Regions from separate parts of the Homo sapiens genome. Here regions 2 and 3 are each linked to region 1. Evidence: promoter capture Hi-C in 16 types of primary human blood cells and fetal thymus (Javierre and others, 2016). All regions are on one chromosome and are shown on one strand. The core of a region is centred on a gene start or on the middle of the fragment in contact, and the rest is flanking DNA. Distances in the headings are between cores, read along the strand shown.

Region 1 (4,881 bases), core at 1,491-3,990:
GGTCTCCAGTCAGTGCCTCTTATTGGCTGAACCCAACCAGAAACTAGAATGATGTGGCCCATCAGGGTCAGCCTGCTTGGGCTCAGAGTGGGGCTGAGAAGGGCAGAGAATGGTTTGACTTGGTGGGAGTGGGGAGGGCAACAGACAGTAGCCAGTACAATCAGGATATCAAACTCCATACAGATATAATCCTAATTTTGTGAAAAGTGATACATGTATTTATGTAGTCCTGTTGTTGAACAAGATATTTAAAATAGCTGCCTCATGGTAGCAGAAGAACCATAGATGATTTTTATTATTTATAGTGTTTGGTATATTTCCCAAATCAAAAAAATGGCTATAAGACTTTAAAATTTATCTTTAAAACTTATCTATATCTTATCTATAAGACTTTAAAATTTATCTTGTAAAAACAAGAGCTCATTAGACATGTGTTTACTTTAATTTTATTTTTAAAGAGAATATTTTCTATCAGTGGCTCCTCATGGTAGGAATTTCACCTCCTGAATTTTCCCGGGAGGAGGATCTCATCTAGAGTAAGATCAAGGCCGAAAGAGAGGGTTTTTTTGTTTCTCACCACATTAGTTTCTTTTCACACTATTCTGCCAATCACTGGGAAAGAATGATAATCCAGACAAATGGTATCCCAGTTCTGATCATATTAGTAGATCTGGAATCTCAACGACTGCTATTAACTTTGTTATGCAGCCAAGCTGATCTGTGATATTCACTTGGTCAAACAAAATTTTTCATATCTGAGTTGGACACACAAACCTCCATGTATAGGCATAAACCTCAGATATGCATATAACTGCAAAATCTTTTCAATTTAATTAGACAGTAAACATTCTTCTCAGATTACATTTGTTTTCAAAATAACTTTTAGAACTGTTTGATTCGTTTTTCTATTGCTTCATGTCTTTTACATTTTAACTTGAGCTACAGTAAAACAACGTGGGGGAGTACTGGGATACTGTCAGCAATCTGCATTTGCCCTGGTGTTTTCCACACCCTGCATTCCATGTCTATTCTTAGCACTGTCCTTGGGCTGCTTGTCAGCTCACATTCAGTGCGGGGTAAAAGGCAGGCAGCCACTGCCTCTGAAGAAATACTTAATGTATACAGAATGAGATAGCAAACCTTTGGAATGTCCCAGAGCAGCTGTTGAAGGCACTAGTCCTTAACCTCTACCAATGTCTCCACCTTGAGCCAAGGCAGTAGTTTGGGAGAATATAATAAGCACCAATCATCAGATGTGCTGTGTAAACTCAGACACGCAGTGTAAGCTCAGGTGTTGAACTTCCATTGGCTGCCAGGCTATTTAAAGCTAAGGATTATGCAGAGATAGCAGATGTGTTACATTTTGCCATCTAAGTTTATGGAGCATCTAAAAAGCACAGATTAAAACTCACTGAATTCAGCAATCAAACTTTTAAAAGTGGTGTCCTTAAGCTTCATATTAATTTACAAGAGGATATGTAAATACATATCTCATGAACATTTTGTACGTGTCCATAGAACTTATACTATCTTTAAAAAGTCAAAACACTTCAGATAGGATTCAGTATATCTTTAAAAAGATGAATGAGGTACATATTTGAACTTTTTAAAAATAAGATTTATATCTGAAAATTCCCATTGACCTTTAAGGCAGTAACAACTATACTAAATCATAAATAGATATCAGACCCAATTTCCAAATACTGTATTTTAATTTTTGCACTCCATATTTATAAAACCTCATTTTAATTAAAATACATTAAAAAGAAAAGCTTATCGAGTGAAGGGAATCACAACTCTTTTTGGCAAAATAAAAGATTTTCATAAAATGGATAGGAATTCCTTAAATGGGTATAGCTCTTTTGCCATCAGTGATTACAAATGCAGCTGGCATTGTTGGAATAATAAGAAACAATTCGGAGTCCTCTCTAATATCCAAATACAGCCTTCTGTATTTTCAATGTTTCAGTTGTAAGAATAGTATCAGTTTGAGCCACACAAACATATTTACAAATTTTCCTTTCTGAGTAAGAATAATAAAGACAACCTCAACATACCAGGAACTGTGTATATATTTTTAATCTTCATAAAAATCATAGCAAATCATTTCAAATGTGGGTAATACAAACATTCTCGTAGTACCAGTGGCTGAACCATCATCTTCCCCATGTCATCTGAACAGGAACCGATACGATGTCACTTAGTCCCAACTGGATCCTTTACTTCCACCACCAAAATTCCATCATGACAGAGGACTGCAGACAAATCTTTGATTTCCACACCATCTGGTAGTTTGTACTGTCGGGTGAAGCTTCTTGAGATAAAACCGTGCTCATCCATTCTGGTTCCGTGTTGTGCTTTTATCAGCAGCCAGCCTTCGAAGGTCTGAATGATGATGTCTTCAGGGAGGAACTGGACCACGTCCAGCAGGATCTGAAAGTGGGATTTGCCTTCTCGGGGTGGCGTCTCTGCCGCTGAGTCCACTGGAGGAGACTGCGCTGCCCTGGTTTTCCTCAGGTCCACGATGGTTGGCCCAGGCAGTGCATATAAAGCATGATCCAGCCTGCAGTCTTCTAGACCTCGAGCTTCAAACTCTTCCTGGTAACGCACTGGAATCTCTATGAGGTGCCTCAAAATGATTTTTGCCATAGTGAAGGCAAAAACAGCCTTGAACAGCCTCCTTCTGCCAACCTTCCACTGCCTTCAGTCAGTGGCGAGCCCCTGCAGTTGCCTACTGACTGGATTACCAGTTGAAGCAGCTAGTGGTTTATAGCCGTGCCCAGACGCAATCACTTAATTAGGCCTGAATCATAGCACGGAATGCTCTCTTGTCTTTTCACACATGCTGACAATGAACGGCTATTTATAGGGCATGTTTCCCAGTGCATTTAGCACACAGCCTGCACAAGCTGCCCAGTCATGGATTGCCCTTACATTCTCAGTTATCCTTGGCAAATGTGTCTGCCTTGCTTACTTCAAGAAAGAGAGTGGGAATCGAAAATGGTATTTGAAAAATATCTGGGTGAGGCCAGGTGCGGTGGCTCATGCCTGTAATCCCAGCACTTCGGGAGGCTGAGGCGGGTGGATCGCCTGAGGTCAGGAGTTCAAGCCCAGCCTGAACAATGTGGTGAAACCCTGTCTGTACTAAAAACACAAAAATTAGCTGGGCATGGTGGCTTATGTCTGAAATCTTAGCTACTTGGGAGGTTGAGGTAGGAGAATCGCTTGAACCAGGAGGCAAAGGTTTCAGCGAGCCAAGACCATACCGTTGCACTCTAGCCTGGGCAATAGAGTGAGACTCCATCTCAACAAACAAACAAACAAACAAAAACCAAAAATATCTGGGTGGGTGCTTTCTCCCTGTGAACTTCAGTAATCTAAGGGAATAGGACTTCTTAGAACAGTCAGAGATGTTCACTCATAATATGAACTGGGATCACATTTTCCCTCGTCTCCAGATACAAAGCTGGGGAGGGCAGAATCTAGCTGTAATTCAGAAAGAATTAATACACACATATTCAAATCTCAGCCATTCAACAAACTGCCCTGTGTCCTATGCATTTCCTTTTATTTTATCTTTTAGTCTTTTGGGCTAAAAGACACATTATCTGGGTTTATTTACATCTGACTCATCAAAATTAGATCAGATGACTAAGCTAGAGAAGTGACAAACGTCAGATGGGGGCTGCAGGGGCATAGGATGGGGAATTTTAGTGATGAAAATAGAGCCACAAAGAAGAGAAAAATGTCAAAGCTTTGAATGATTTGATATGAACCTCCAAAAATCTAAGGATTAATCTTGTCACAGCTCTGCTACTGAGTTGGCAAAAATAAATTAAATATAATTTCCCCACTATATCACCCTTTATACTAAACTTACCCTGAAAAAGAATGAGGCAACTCCTTATCCACAGCTATGGAAGAATCTCCAAGATATGTTAAATCAAAAAGAAAAGTCCAGGGCAATATATGATATGCTAGTGTTTATACTTTTTTTTTTTTTGAGACAGAGTCTTGCTCTGTCACCCAAGCTGGAGTGGGTGACAGCCTCGAAGTCCTGGAATCAAGAAATCCCTCACTCTCAGCTTCCTGAGTAGCTGGGACTATAGAACCATGCCACCATGCCCAGTTAGTTTTTTTGATTGTTTTTTTAGAGATGGGGGTCTTGTTATGTTGCCCAGGCTGGTCTCTAACTCCTGGCCTGAAGAGATCCTTCCACCTCATCCTCCCAAAGTGCTGGAATTACAGACGTGAGCCACTGCACCAGGCCTTATTTATACTTTTTTAAAAAGTATGTATTTGCTTATATTAATAAAATCTCTCTGAAAGCTTTGTAGCTGAAGACAGTGGGTGCCTCCTGAGAGTGATTGGCAGGTGGGGGCTGGAAGGAGACCTAATTTTTTACTGTAAATACTTCTGTGCTATTTATTTACTTACTATTTTTATTATTATTTTTGCCACCATCTTCTTTGTGATAGTGTGTGCTTTTTATTTTATTTATTTATTTATTTTTTTGAGATGGAGTGTCGCTCTGTTGCCCAGGCTGGAGTGCAGTAGTGCCATCTTGGCTCACTGCAACCTCCACCTCCTAGGTTCAAGTGATTCTCCTGCCTCAGCCTCCTGAGTAGCTGGGACTATAGGCGTCTGCCATCACACCCAGATAATTTTTGTATCTTTAGTAGAGACAGGGTTTCACAATGTTGGCCAGGCTGGTCTCAAACTCCTGACCTCAGGTGATCTGCCCGCCTCAGCCTCCCAAAGCATTGGGATTATAGATATGAGCCACTGCGCCCAGCCAGTGTGCTTTTTATTTATAGAGTGTATATGGAATATACCTACACACAATAAATTTTAAAATATGGAAAATTTCTTCTCCATGGA
Region 2 (4,881 bases), core at 874-3,373, 460 kb before region 1:
GGAGAAAATTCCCTGACCCCTTGTGCTTCCCAGATGAGGTGATGCCTCACCCTGCTTCAGCTCACCCTCCATGGGCTGCACCCACTGCCCAACAAGTCCCAGTGAGATGAACCAGGTACCTCAGTTGGAAATGCAGAAATCACCTCTCTTCTGCATCGATCTTGCTGGGAGCTGCAGACCAGAGCTGTTCCTATTTGGCCATCTTGAATCCTCCAACCTACACATTATTCTTTTTTTTTTTTGGATTCTGTCAGATTTCTTTCTTTCTATTTATTTATTTATTTATTTATTTATTTATTATTTTACTTTAAGTTCTAGGGTACACGTGCACAACATGCAGGTTTGTTACATATGTATACATGTGCCATATTGGTGTGCTGCACCCATTAACTCATCATTTACATTAGGTATATCTCCTAATGCTATCCCTCCCCCCTCCCCCCACCCCCCCGCAGGCCCCGGTGTGTGATGTTCCCCACCCTGTGTCCATGTGTTCTCATTGTTCAATTCCCAAATGTGAGTGAGAACATGCAGTGTTTGGTTTTCGGTCCTTGTGATAGTTTGCTCAGAATGAAGGGTTCCAGCTTCATCCATGTTCCTCTAAAGGACATGAACTCATCCTTTTTTATGGCTGCATAGTATTCCATGGTGTATATGTGCCACATTTTCTTAATCCAGTCTATCACTGATGGACATTTGGGTTGGTTCCAAGTTTTTGCTACTGTGAATAGTGCCACAATAAACATACGTGTGCATGTGTCTTTATAGCAGCATGATTTATAATCCTTAGGGTATATGTCCAGTAATGGGATGGCTGGGTCAAATGGTATTTCTAGTTCTAGATCCTTGAGGAATCGCCACACTGTCTTCCACAATGGTTGAACTAGTTTACACTCCCACCAACAGTGTAAAAGCATTCCTATTTCTCCACATCCTCTCCAGCACCTGTTGTTTCCTGACTTTTTAATGATTGCCATTCTAACTGGTTTGAGGTGGTATCTCATTGTGGTTTTCATTTGCATTTCTCTGATGGCCAGTGATGATGAGATGTGTCTGTTGGCTGCATAAATGTCTTCTTTTGAGAAGTGTCTGTTCATATCCTTTGCCCATTTTTTGATGGGATTGTTTGAATTTTTCTTATAAATTTGTTTAAGTTCTTTGTAGATTCTGGATATTAGCCCTTTGTCAGATGGGTCCAACCTAAGGCACATTATTCTTAAGTGCACATGGAAAATTATCCAGAATAGAACATCTTTTACAACATAAAATCATCTCAATAATTTAAAAAGAATTGAAATCATACCAAGTCTGTTTTCCAATGACAATAGAATGAAATTAGAAATCAATAAAATAAAATATTCTGGGAAACTTATACATGTGTGGAAATTAAGAGCAGTTTTACATTACCAGTTGGTCAAAGAAGAAATCAAAAGAGCAATTCAAAAATTATTTGAGATGAATGCAAATAAAAACACAAAACACCCAAATTTATGGAATCAGCAAAAAAAATAATGCTCAGAAGGAAATTTATACTTGTAAATATCTACATTTAAAAGAAGAAAAATCTTGAGTCAATAATGTAAACTATTACTGTAAAAAACCAAAACTAGGGGACATTACTGAAATACAAAGGATTATAAGAGAATACTAATAACAAGTGTATGCCAACAAATTAGATAACCTAGGTAAAATGAACAAATTCCTATAAAGACACAAACTACCAACATTGACTCAAGAAGACACAGAAAATCTAAATAGGCCTATAACAAGTAAAGAGATTGTGTTATTCATTTTTTTTAACTCACGAATTAAAGTTCAGGACCAGATGGCTTTACTGGTGAATTCCACCACATATTTAAACAAGAATTAACACCAATCCTTCCCAAGCTTTTCCCAAAAAATGGAAGAGGAGGGAATTATTCCCAATTAATTTGATGAGGTCAGATTACCATGATTTCAAAATCAGATAAGGACATCACAAAAAAGGAGACTACCTGCCAATATTACCAATTAATAGAGATGCAAAAATCCTCTACAACATACTAGCAAGCTGAATCTAGCAATATATAAAAAGAATCATATACCACAACCAAGTGAAATTTATCCCAGGAAAACAAGGTTGGCTCACCATATGAAAATCAATCAATGTAATACACTATATTAATAGAAAAAAATTGAAAGAAAACCATGATAATCTCAATAGATACCAAAAAATACTCCAACAAAATTTAACACCATTTTATGATTTTAAAAAAATTACTCAGCAAACTGGGAAAGAAGAGAATTTGCTCAATTTGATGAAGGGCACCTATGAAAAACCCACAGCTAATACACTTAAAAGTGAAAGACTTAAAGCTTTCCCCTATGATCAGGAAGAAGAGGAGGATGTTTGCTCTTACCACTTCTGTTTAGCATCATGCTAGAGGTTCTAGCCAACACAATTTGCTCTCACCACTTCTGTTCAGCATTATACTAAAGATTCTAGCCAGTCTGATTAGGTAAGAAAAGAAACAAGATGCATTCAGGTTGGAAGAGAAGGAATAAAATCAATTTAAGAGAAATAAAACCAATCTTTATTTGAAGATGACATGGTCTTACAGATTTAAAAAAAGCTCTAAAGAATTCACCAAAAACCTGAGCCAATAACTGAGTTCATTCAGCAAGTTTTCAGGATTTAAAATTGATGTACAAAAATGGGTGTATTTTTGTACAGCCAATAATGTACAACTCAAGAAGGAAATTATGAAAACAACTCCAGTTGCAATAATATCAAAAATAATAAAATACTTAGAAATAAATTTAACCAAGGAAGAGCAAGACTTACGTACACTGAAAACTAGAAAACATTGCTGAAATAAATTAAAGACCTAAATAATTAGAAAGACATCTCATGTTCATGGATTGCGATACTTAATATAGTTAAGATGACAATACTTCCCAAATTGACTTACAGATTCAATATAATCCCCATCAAAATCCCCATGCATGTACAAAAGAGGCTTTTTGCACCACAGAAGAGGAACCCCCAAATTATGAATCTGTCCGTTTCTGTAGGAGCATGATGGCTGTTTTTCCCTCCCTCTTTCTTAGAGAAAGAGAAAAATCTGTGCTCCCTAGTCATTTATAGTCTTTTGAATGTAAATAAATTCTTACAGGAAGAGAAAGGGGAAAGTTCCTACCCTGGAATGTAAATATTTGGCTCCTGAAGATATAAATTTTATTTGTCCTGTTAATGGGAACAGATGGCTTCAGATCTAACACCCTTTAACTTCTAAGGTTTGTCCTCTAAACCGGGTTTTAGTTTCCTTTGCTTGGAAAGCCTTATCTGTGCATAAAAATGAAAATATACTCTGTACAGTCCTACAGTTTGTTTGACCTGGTTCAGCAGGTCAGACACAGCCTTGGCTCACTGGGCCAGATGACGGCCATTACAAGAATGCTTCAGGATATGCAATAATTAAATAGCTTTACACCTTGATTTGTCCAGGACAGTACCAGTTTACACCTGCTGGAGCTCAATTAATGCTTATTAATTATTTTAGTGCTTTCTTTCTCTCTCAAAAGTGTCCCAGTGTGGTGAGTAGTTATGCCATCAACCAACACAACATTCTAATGGCATCTGTTTATATGCAGAAGGTTAAAGGAATGAAGGAGGGAAGGTTATGGACCCTGCACCCTGGCTAAACAATTGTCAGCTACAGTGAGTCACATTTTCAGAGACCCTGAAGTTTCATTCATACAGCCAATATTTCAAACTTGATCCCATACTTTGATTACAATTAATAAAATGAACCGCGTATAATTGCCATTTTCTATTGAATAAGTCATCTGGTAGGGAAAGTCTAAACTTCAGAAAATTATAGGATAAGGTAGACAACTTCAGCCAAAGAGAATAGCAAAGGTAATAGCATGAAATAGAGAAAAAAATGAATCAGTACTGAATCACAGGTGAAAAAAAAAGTGCCCTTGGTCCATTTCAGGGATGTAAAACAGGAGAAAAAAGAAGGAAATTGTCCCTGAAGTGTTTGACATTTGGGAAAGCCCAAAAGCCAGTGGATGCTGACTCTGATTTGTGCTTTTCCTCAGGAAACACTTTGATATTAATGATGTGTCTGAGATAATATTAGATTCTTTGTATTATCTGAGTTAAGCTCTGCTACTGTTGCATCTGAAGGAGGAACAAACCTTTTGCTGTTCAGCAGCAGAATGGTGAGACATTGAGGAGCTTATCCCAGAGGCTTTTTTAATCCATAGATTTCCTTCATAAACCCATGAAAGGGCTTATTTGTGGCAACATCTTTCTGAGGGTCTCATCAATCTCATTTGCCTCTTAGTTTCTCAAGCGGTTTACCTAGACTTTTACTGTAGATTGATCACATTTAGTTGTCTATTTATAATATCTATCTTATCACCTTACAGAGCAGGAGGTGAATGAGCACAGTTTGTTAAAATGAAATGGAAGTAGTAAAATAATTTTTGTGCCTTTATTTCCAGAGAGCTAGAATAATCTCCCTAGGCTTTTAATTTAGAAATACCTACCCCACCACCTGACTCCCTTAGCAATCAATCCATGGCTAGAAGATGGTGGCCTGCATGTGGCAGCAAGGGGAGAGCTGGAGAAGAGCTATAAAGAAAGGGAGTGCCCAGCTGTTAACTCCCTGCTCCTTGACGTTAGGCATTTCTTTAGACATCCTTTGTGCAATAATAGGACAATGGAGAACTCTGAGTCCTCATTTTAGATTCTCCATTCACTGTCTTTGTCTTTGATTCAACTGTACATCTGAATGAAGTCTAGGGATGCCAGGTGGTATGCCCCAACAGAAAGCCATCCAACCTTTTCAATATCAAAAAGATGCAAAATAAGTCATAAAGTTGCTCCAT
Region 3 (4,881 bases), core at 1,774-4,273, 420 kb before region 1:
AGGGGCAGGGTACCTGCTGTTTTTCTTTTTGTAACTTCAGGTCCCAGTACAAAACAGTTGCAGGAAAGCTAATATTTGGAGAATGAATGAATAGATGAGAGACTGGTGGGTTGTGTTCTGCAAAGCAGGAAGTCCAGGGCTATAGATTGCTTTGGCTGTACTTGGAAACCCAAGATTTGCATTTTCACTGTGGGCCTGGGCCTAGCACTCTCTCCTCTGCTCTCCTCCAAAAGTGCCAGCAGAGGGATGTGGCACCAGAGCTTCCCCCTCACTCCAGTCTTCTGAATATCTGGTCAACTGTCTGCCCTATAGCCATGGAGCAAGTATTTTAGTAGCCCTGAGTTTTGTGGCAGAGACTTTCAGAATTTTCCCTGTTGGGGTTTGCTTTCAGTGAATAAAGGAGATTGAGCTTCCCAGGGCATGTTTGATGTTTGTGCTAAGTTCTTTCTTTCTTTTTTTTTGACAAGAGAAAACAGGTTTATTTTGCCACCAGTGCATTAGCACACTAACAAGTATAGGACTTAACATTCCAAAGGAATATACCCATGCTAGTGGGAGTCATTTACATTTAAATGTATATACCAATGTATCCATACCTCAGTCAAGATACAGAACATTTCCATCACCCTAGAAAGTTCTCTCCTTGCCTTTTTTTTTTTTTTTCCAATTTGTTGTTGTTGTTCTGAGACAGCGTCTCACTCTGTCACCCAGGCTGGAGTGCAGTAGTGTGATCTTGGCTCACTGCTCCCTTGACCTCCTGGCCTCAAGTGATCTTCCAGTGCTCAAGTGATCCTCCCACCTCATCCCCCCAAGTAGCTGGGACTACAGACACGTGCCACCATGGCTGGTTAATTTTTCGTATTTTTTTTTTTTGTACAGACTGGATTTTACCACGCACAGGCGGGTCTCGAACTCCTGAGCTCAAGCGATCCACCTGCCTCGGCATCCCAAAGTGCTGGGATTACGGGCCTGAGCCACCGTGCCTGGCTCCTCCTTGCCTTTTCCAGTTAATCTTCTTCCCTCTAGAAAAGCAACCACTGTCCTGATTATCTATCCCCATATTATCATATTAATTTTAATTTTTTATATTACAAATTTCATCACTACCATGCTAGTCATAACACTGCTATAAGTCATTAGAAGCTGTTAATGTATTTTCATCGTTCAAATTTCACCTACTTCTCTGGATCCCAGATTAATTGATTTTTTTAAGGTCACATTTGCGTGTTAATCTGCAGGTCTAGCTCATAATCTCTTTGATGAATAGAAGGTATACTAACACAATGTCATACATGATTAGGTAATGTAAGTAACCTGGTCTTTCAGAATACTATTGAATGATACTAAGCTACTTTAAAATTAATTCCTAAAATCCCAACCCTTATATTTCCATGGTGAGTAACATGCATCATCTCAGGGGAGAGTGGCATTTTCAGTTTACAGATGAGAATATGATTCAACAACTAGCTGACTTATACAAAAATCCCCTTTCCATAATCGGTGGTGCCAGAACTAGATTTTTATTATTTTGCTCATTCCACTATCCTAGGCTGCATGTACGCAAGGAAAGAGGCAACTTGTATTCCAAAAATTCAAATTCCTTGTCTCTTCTCTGAAAATTCATAGGTTACCCACTCTTTCCATCCTCCAGCATAGTGTTGAGCACTGTGAAAGCCCTGCGATATTGCAGTGCCCAGAGCCTTCTTGCTTCTCACTCCAGCTGAAAAAGAAAACACCAAGTTGCCAGATTTGGATGGCTTTACTTCATTGTATTTCTCTTTGAAGTCTCTTGGGTTTATCTGTAGAGCTTCACCTACCTCATCCAATGGTATATTGATAGACCCAGGGATTTTTCCATACTCCAGAATTTCCCGTGTCTTTCTAACATCAATTAATATGATATTTTTAGAATTCAATAGGTTTTTTAAGTTCCTTATAAGTGACATCTTTAGAAATAGCAGTATAAAAATTGTGGCAGTTTCCGTTTATTGACCTCAAACTGCAGAGTGCAGCTTCCAGAGTCCAGAGGACAGCCCTGCACATGGTCCCAAGCAGCAGCCAGGACACCACCATGCCCTGCTAATTTTTTATATTTTTGGTAGAGATGGGGTTTTGCCATGTTGGCCAGGCTGGTCTTGAACTCCTGACCGCAGGTGATCTGCCTGCCTCGGCCTCCCAAAGTGCTGGGATTACAGGCGTGAGCCACCTAGTCCAGCTGAGATTCTTAAGGATAGATTTGTAATGCAAAGTGTGGTGTTCCTTTCCAAGTGAAGTCACTAATCTCAGATGACACAACAGAAGTAAGAGCTGCTTTATTAATGCAAGACCTCCTCTTAAGACCTCATCTTAGGACTTTGTGTAATGCAAATAATTTATCACAGAAGTTTTTATTTTTTTAAATTTTAAAAATAAGTTATAATTATGATATCTGCAGAATATATTTGGAAGAATAGCAATACACAAAGAGGCACAATTATAAAATTAGCGAAAATATGATACAAAAAGGTAATTCTAATTTTCAGTGAAAGGTGATCTAAAATCTTTTTTGAAATACTTTCCTAATCAGTTTCCATCCTGCGCTAGTTTTGAACTCACATAGCTATGAGACTGATTGATCTTTCTAAAACCCCAAACAGATCTGTCTCTCTTCAAATGAAAATCATTTGATGCTTGCCTATTGTTTTCAGAATAAGGTTCAACCTCCTTAACATAGTTCATAAGGCCCTCCCTGTCCAAGGGGATCCAGTTGGTGAGTCATTTGCTTGCTCCCCAAAAGTTCAGTGAGAATTTCTTGTCACATATACATCAACAAAACAACACAAAATGAAACCAAAGCTTCTCCTCCCAGGTTCCCTGTCTCAGTAAGTAGATACTAAGCCTGAAACCTAGAAATTGATCTGGATTGCCCCTTTGTCCTCTCCCTTCTCCCTACCCTGACAATCCTATCTAAATATTTCTTGAACACACCCTTTCTCCTCCCTTTCCCTAGACCCAGCTACTTGCTGAGAGTCTGCGTTTCAGCCAGTCATCTCCTAAACTGCAATCTGATCATGAATGTCCCTATTTGCTCCCTATCTAGCCCTCTTTGCGGATGGAGTCTGAATTCTTTAACTTGCTTTCCAAGACCAGCATTTATTTAGTGAGTACTGTTTGCCAGGCACTTGTTCTAGGCACTGAAAATTAGGCAGTGATCAAGACTAACAAAAGCTTCTGACCTCAGAATCTTACATTTTATTTGGGGTGGTGTGGTCTTGGGGCTGGATAATAAGAAAGCAAATAAAGAAAGTAATTAGAGATTATGATAAGGGCCTTGAAAGGAGTAGCCAGCCATCGACCTGTGTGCATTTGCATGTCTGTGTGTGAGGGCACTTTAAACAGAGTGGCCAGAGAAGGCCTTTCAGAAGGACAAGGTGGGGTTTGTTCTCTGACGTTTGCCCCGTGACCCCTCACACACCCCTCAGCCTCCACCCTAGCTGTCCTCCTAACACTGCCCTCAGCCAGACTGGACTTTCAGGTGCTTGTGTTCACCTCTCTTATCAGGGGACCTGCCCCGATAATCACGTAGGTTCTTTTCTATTTTCCTAAGTGTCGACTGGCTTGAGAAATAAAAGGACAGAGTACAAAAGAGAGAAATTTTAAAGCTGAGCGTCCAGGGGAGACATCACACATTGGTAGGATCCGTGATGCCCCACAAGCCACAAAAACCAGCAAGTTTTTATTAGGGAGTTTCAAAAGGGGAGGGAGTATACGAATAGGTGTGGGTGACAGACATCAAGTACTTAACAGGGTAATAGAATATCACAAGGCAAGTGGAGGCAGGGCGAGATCACAGGACCACAGGACCGAAGCGAAATTAAAATTGCTAATGAAGTTTTGGGCACCACTGTCATTGATAACATCTTATCAGGAGACAGGGTTTTGAGATCAACCGGTCTGACCAAAATTTATTAGGTGGGAATTTCCTCTTCCTAATAAGCCTGGGAGCACTATGGGAGACTGGAGTTTATTTCACCTCTGCAATCTCGACCATAAGAGACAGGTACGCCCCGGGGGGGCCAGTTCAGAGACCTACTCCTAGGTGCGCATTCTCTTTCTCAGGGACGTTCCATGCTGAGAAAAGGAATTCATCGATATTTCTCCCATTTGCTTTTGAAAGAAGAGAAATATGGCTCTGTTCCGCCCGGCTCACTGGCGGTCAGAGTTTAAGGTTATCTCTCTTATTCCCTGAACAATTGCTCTTATCCTGTTCTTTTTTCAAGGTGCCCACATTTCATATTGCTCAAACACACATGCTGTACAATTTGTGTAGTTAACGCAATTATTACAGGGTCCTGAGACGATATACATCCTTCTCGGCTGACAGGATTAAGAGATTAAAGCAAAGACAGGCATAGGAAATCACAAGGATATTGATTGGGGAAGTGATAAGTGTCCATGAAATCTTTACAATTTATGTTTAGAGATTGCAGTAAAGACAGGCATAAGAAATTACAAAAGTATTAATTTGGGGAACTAATAAGTGTCCATAAAATCTTCATAATCCACGTTCTTCTGTCATGGCTTCAGTCGGTCCCTCCGTTTGGGGTCCTTGACTTCCTGCAACACTCTCTCCCTTCTTTCCTGTCTTCCTGTCTGCTCCATTGCTCAGGTCTTTCCAGAAGCCATTGCCTGAAACCCTCTGACTCCGCCTCCCTTGATTAGGCCCCGTGCTTCTGTTGTGTGTTTTTCAATTAATAATCAAGCAACTGTAATAACTTGATTAGCAGTCTCTCATGTTCACCATTGAATCCTCAGTACTAAATAAGATGCTTGGTATCACTTGTGGACAGAATAACCCATGCATAGGACGGCCACTTAAATCTGCCCCTTTCCAAGTGAAGT

Evidence for each region. The method cuts DNA at HindIII sites, captures the fragments that hold promoters and counts their contacts. A CHiCAGO score of 5 or more calls a contact.
Region 2: a contact is called between a fragment that was not itself captured here and the fragment with the promoter of HSPB3 in region 1, in 1 of 17 cell types (neutrophils). The highest score is 5.3, in neutrophils.
Region 3: a fragment that was not itself captured here is called in contact with the fragment with the promoter of HSPB3 in region 1 in 7 of 17 cell types (neutrophils, naive B cells, total B cells and 4 more); the score reaches 7.8 in neutrophils.

What each region holds. Positions count from the first base shown.
Region 1 is chr5:54,453,558-54,458,438 of GRCh38, reverse strand. HSPB3 (heat shock protein family B (small) member 3) reads right to left here and starts at 2,740. Exons shown (of 1, transcript NM_006308.3): 1 at 2,062-2,740. The coding sequence starts at 2,649. The coding sequence ends at 2,197. The HindIII fragment of the contact is 1,443 bases long and covers 2,314-3,756 here.
Region 2 is chr5:54,914,138-54,919,018 of GRCh38, reverse strand. No RefSeq gene overlaps it. Among named protein-coding and RNA genes, the nearest start is that of ESM1, 69 kb to the left of the region's middle. The HindIII fragment of the contact is 468 bases long and covers 1,890-2,357 here.
Region 3 is chr5:54,875,303-54,880,183 of GRCh38, reverse strand. It overlaps the pseudogene LOC100130574. Among named protein-coding and RNA genes, the nearest start is that of ESM1, 110 kb to the left of the region's middle. The HindIII fragment of the contact is 372 bases long and covers 2,838-3,209 here.